Regions from separate parts of the Homo sapiens genome. Here region 2 is linked to region 1. The links are contacts of gene promoters, found by promoter capture Hi-C in blood cells and fetal thymus (Javierre and others, 2016). All regions are on one chromosome and are shown on one strand. Each heading gives the region's core, a stretch centred on a gene start or on the middle of the fragment in contact. The rest is flanking DNA. Distances are from core to core; before and after follow the strand shown.

Region 1 (2,700 bases), core at 79-2,578:
TGTGAGCCACCAAGCCAGGCCGACTGCTTAACATTTAGAATGTATGTACAGAATACTTTTTCTACTCAGCATCGGTCTTCCTGCCCCGTCACCTTGTTTTGTTTTATTGGTAACATTAATCCTGATTGTTTTAGATCTCTGAAGTTTAATTAGTTCTGCTATACTCACCAGAGTTTGGCTTTCATCTCGCCTTTCTGCATTTCCAAAATAGGACCGTCTTCATTTTAAAAAATGCTTTCAATTACCCAAGCTTAAGTATTGTTAATCCAATGGGCCTACTTACTATCCACACCAGAAAAACGTTAGGGTTCACTGTATTCATTTAAAATCCAGTTTGGGAAGATGTAACCACCAGACACACACACGAGCGTTTAGTGATACCAAGATGAGGTTGAACAGGGCCCAGTACTCGAAGAAATCGTCGAAGGAGCATCATCGTGGTTAAGACCAGACTCGAAGTAGGTTTTACCCTGACTCCATCACTAGCTCTGCCATACTGGACTACTTAGGAAACTTCTTGTGCCTCCATTTTATAACTAAGTGAAATAAGGAAAGAATTTGAAATCGTGCCCGGCACAAAATTAAGCACTTAATAGATTGGCATTTTTCATTTATTTAAAGTTACAGAATGTCAGGTATATTTTTAAAGCGTTATCTAATGCAGTTCAGAAATTTTAAAGAAGCTCCAGACTTTCACAAAAGGTGAAGTGACTTGCCCAAAGCCACAAAACGAACTGGCGATAGTTATACTATACAGGTTTCTTGAATCCCAGGTCACTCTTTTTGTGAAAAATACGGTGCTGTGGCACCTTATTCTCATTGCCTGTGGCTTGAGTAACTGAAGACGTTTTCATGCCATATGAAAGGTATTTAGCATGCTGCATTGATTCCTTATCAGATTAAATCTTTGCTTTTAAAGAGAATTGATTTTTAGCCCATAGCAATTCTTGAAAGTAAACACTCCAAGATGAAGCTGCCCTTTCCCATCAAAGGTTAGACACCCTAAATCCAGAAAAATCTTCAACGTGTAGGAGACCTGTTCACAGGTAGCTCTAGGTTCCGGTGAAGTGGCTGCAGCACAGCCTTCAGCATCACTTGCTGCCTCTTCTGCTTGCAAGCTTGGTGGTGGATCTAGCGCGTCTCTGGTTGCTACGGCGATTCCCCGGCAGGCGTCATCCGTCGCTATGGCGTTCTGCACTGCGCAGCATGGCTGCTCCCGATTGGCTGAGGCGCCCCAGGTGGCGGAGGAAGAATTGTCGGCATTGGCCTGGCCAGCGCTGGTTGGTGGCCTGGAGGAGGATTTGATTGGAAAACCAACGGTGCAGCTGGCCGCGGTGTCCCTGAGGTTGAGGGGACCGGGAATAGGCTGGGGGGAGGACGGGACGGGCTGAGACTGGACGGGACCCCCGGTCTGCAGCAGCAGGTGACAGCAGCAGGGACAATGATAAGGAGATTGGCCTGAAGGAGGGACCGTCCCTCCCGCGCGGTGAGTAGGCGGGAGCCGGTGCTCGGCTGTGCCGGCGAGCAGCTTGAGTCAGGGTCTCCGGGGAGACGTCCTCAGGTCCCTGTGGAGCGGCCCCGAAGCCTCGGGAGCCAGCTTCACTAGACAAGAGGCAGAGGTAGAGAATGCGGCTGTGGTGGGTAAGTGAGTCACTGCGTGAGGCAGTCTTTTCAAAGCAGGTGGGTTTGTGTTGGACGGATGGATGGTGGGAAAGCGCCATCAACGATGCTTCTTGGCGCTTCCATTTTGATAACGGAATTATTCTGGTTAAATGGAGCCTGAATGTGTCTCTTCCAATCTGCTCCGACGCCTCTGGAGGTTCATTCTTCATCTCTATGAGCGTCGCTTTTCTGCCTTCTCCTTACAGGATGCTGCTTTGACTTTGCCCCTCTGCTTTTCTGCCCTACTTCGGTGAGCCCTTCCACTTCCTCGCCTCAGGCACCATCTATCTGACGATGATTAGAAAGTCTCCAACTGGAACCTAGCCTGCTCTACTAACTGTCAGACCCCAAAATCCAGCTGCCAAGTTAACGCCACACATGTGCAACCCTGAACGCCATCTTCCCCATGTCTGCTGCTGCTCTTGGATTCCCTATTTTGGGCATCACTATCCATTCAGCTTTCAAAAACTACACTCTAGACGACATCCATGACACTTACTGCTGCTTCCTCTGCATCTCTATCAATTATCAAGACTATCCCTTCTTAATAGGTGTTGAATCAATTCCCACATTACCATCTCTATTTTTACTGTCTCAATTTCCACCATCGGTTGGTTAAATTCAACACCCATCTGGCTTCTCCGATTCTAGTCTGGCCCTATCTATCCAATCCACTTTTTTCCCCACCATTGTTGAACTGATATATATATATGTGTATATATATATATATGGAGTCCTTCTAAAAAAGACTCCTTTTTTAGAAGGAGTCTTGCTGTGCTGCCAGGCTGGAGTGCAGTGGAGCGATCTCAGCTCACTGCAGCCTCCGCCTTCCGGGTTCAACCAATTCTCATGCCTCAGCCTCCAGAGAGCTGGGATTACAGGCGCGAGCCACTACGCCTGGCTAATTTTTGTATTTTTAGTAGAGAAGGGGTTTCACCATGTTGGTCAGGCTGGTCTCGAACTCCTGATCTCAGGTGATCCACCCGCCTCAGCCTCCCAAAGTGCTGGAATTACAGGCGTGAGCCACCGTGCCCGGCT
Region 2 (2,823 bases), core at 73-2,572, 340 kb before region 1:
GCAATTCAGGGCTCAAAATCCTCCCACTTCAGCCTCCCAAAGCACTGAGATTATAGGCATGAGCCACCACACTCAGCCTTTTTTTAAGCCTATCATGGAGTGGTGCCTTCTTCATTGCACACTTTGGCCTATATAGCTTTGGGGTAGTGAATCCACAGAATATATGTTCTTCACCCTACATATTTGCTGGTTTTCTTAATCTTGGCAGGCAAATTTTGTCTTTATCTTACAGATCTAAAACCCAAGAATGATCTTTGGTATTTTACTTCTTTCAGGATTCAAGTTCCTCTGGTAAAAAGGCTTGTTGTTGATATAATTAACCAATAGTCTGTGCTCATCACTAAATATTTAGAAGACCACAGACACAGACTACATAGCTGTTATAGAAGAGCACAGAGAAGCATGAGTTAAGTTAGTGTGCAAAAATGTGTATACATGCTTGTATGTAGGAGTGTGTATTTGTGCCCCAGAGCTAATAACATTAAGCTGAGATTACAGAGTGTAGAATACAACTTGGAGAAAATGGTTAAGATGGTATCTAATATTTCCATTAGGGACTTTTCTGTTCAGAGCTGTCAAAACAGATTCTGTGAATTGACTAGACTATGGAAGGTGATCATAATGATATTGATGAAACACATAACTGAAAAACAGAATTTAAATAGAAGAGAGTCTCTAGAAATACAACTAAATCTTAATCTGGAGATACATGCCTCAAAATAACTCTCTCCCATTCCTTTTTCCCTCTCAACAAAAACAAACTCACTGGAAAAGGACAATCAAACATTTCCAAGCCTTGCAATGCCCTATTTCCCATCGGAGTTTCGGGAAAAAAAAATGTATGAGTCACATTCTTAACCTGGCAATAAGGTCCACGAGGTATTTGGTTTCTCTGTGTTTGCCAGCTTTCTTGTACATAGGCGAGGTTGCCAGATCCAAAGAGAGAGTAGTGTGGATAAGACCATTTGACAAAGGCTGCAGCTTTAGGAAGAACTTGACCAACCTTTAGTAAACCAGCAAGAAGGAGGCCAGACTCTCTCCTTCCACCCTCAAATCCCCTCAGTGCCCCTGTTTGGCTGAACCCAGTGAGAATCCAAAGGGCTAAACAATCTCTTGATGCAGTCATAGAGGTCAGCCTCCTCTATAGAGGAGGCAGGATGGCACAAGGCAGGACAGAAAAGAATGAAGGGTGAAGCTTGGGGGCAATGAAGAAGAAATCCAGCCCACCTATCACCCTCCAATGTCTTGACTGCTAAAGGATACTCTTGAGAGTACTCTTAAGTACTCTCGAGTTGTTTTGAGATTCCCCAAAGAGGATGTTTCAAGAATAGCTGAAAAATTTGGGTTTTTATGTGAAAATCCCCCTACTTTTCAGTTTTGGCACCCTACTTGAAAAAATTAAATAACCAAAATACTCCTGTGAGGAAGATTTCACTACGGAAAGCTTTTGACCACTGATCTAGAGCAATGCTATGATTTTAATTGAATTTCAAAAATGTCAAAAGCATGGCCGGGCGCGGTGGTTCACACCTGTAATCATCCCAGCACTTTGGGAGGCCAAGGCAGGCAGATAGCCTGAAGTTGGGAGTTTGAGACCAGCCTGGGCTATATGGTGAAATCCCGTCTCTACTAAAAATACAAAAATTACCCAGGCACAGTGGCAGGCACCTGTAATCCCAGCTACTTGGGAGGCTGAGGCAGGAAAATCGTTTGAACCTGGGAGATGGAGGTTGCAGTGAGCCGAAATCGTGCCACTGTACTCCAACCTGGACAACAGAGCAAGACTCCTCTGTCTCAAAAAAAAGAAAAAAATGTCAAAAGCAGATTTCTGCTCTAATACAAGATGGAGTAACAGGGATATGAATTAACTTTCTGCTTGAAAAAAAAACTAAACTAAAAATCAGATATATATATATCTGATATATATAACCAGATATATATATATATATATATATATATATATATATATATGGCTTCCATTAGGCAATGTAAAATAGTAATCTATTAAAGAAGAGAAATGAATGAGGAAAACCCTAATATTTCTCCAACTTACTGCCTGGAGAGTTTCCAGGCCTCAGTTTAGCATGGGGATAGGGACCCAGACAAAGCCCAGCAGTCTTCTTGATTTGAGGAGACAAAACTGTAAGGATGAGGAGGCCAAGATGGCTAGAGTTTTTGGAGCAGAGTTCCAGAGAGGAGAGACCTGCCCAGAAAGAAAAATCTAGAGAAGTGAATAGGGTCTTCCTCAACTCCACCTGAGTGTTGATCAGCACACGCATGTGAAGAAAATACCCCAAGCCCACAGGATTAGGCAGGATTTCTCAACCTCAGCTCTATTGACATTTGGAGGCAAAAAATTCTATATTGTGGGAGCTGCATTATAGGATATTTAGCAATATCCTGACTTCTACCAACTAGATGCCAGTAGCACTACCCCACCAGTTGTAACAACAAAAAGTGTCTCTACACATTGTCAAATGACCTCTATGGGGCAAAATTATCCCAGCTGAGAACTACTGGATGAGAGGTATTAATACCCAGTATTTACCCTGACTGAGGATTGTCCCCTTTCCCACTCACGAAAGTGGAAAACTTCATAATTCATGAGGTATCAGGAAAAGAACTCAGAAGGGTCTTGCTTCAGTAGTGAGCTAAAGTAGTACTGGACTAAATGCTGCTCTGGTTTAATCTAAGTAGGCTTATAAACAAGAAGTGAAACTTAACTATATCCATGAAGAAAGCTCAAGTTATATGTATAGTAATAAAACTAACAACCAGCACAGAACAAAAAATATTTTAAATGCACAGGACCCAATCAAAAAT

Evidence for each region. The method cuts DNA at HindIII sites, captures the fragments that hold promoters and counts their contacts. A CHiCAGO score of 5 or more calls a contact.
Region 2: a fragment that was not itself captured here is called in contact with the fragment with the promoter of NEK10 in region 1 in 11 of 17 cell types (total CD8 T cells, M0 macrophages, M2 macrophages and 8 more); the score reaches 10.1 in total CD8 T cells.

Annotation. Positions count from the first base shown.
Region 1 is chr3:27,368,011-27,370,710 of GRCh38, reverse strand. It overlaps NEK10 (NIMA related kinase 10), which reads left to right and starts at 1,328. Exons shown (of 36, transcript NM_001394966.1): 1 at 1,328-1,486. RefSeq lists an enhancer at 1,570-2,070. The HindIII fragment of the contact is 2,054 bases long and covers 1,121-2,700 here.
Region 2 is chr3:27,706,494-27,709,316 of GRCh38, reverse strand. It overlaps the pseudogene KIAA1143P2. Among named protein-coding and RNA genes, the nearest start is that of LINC02084, 5.0 kb to the left of the region's middle. The HindIII fragment of the contact is 249 bases long and covers 1,198-1,446 here.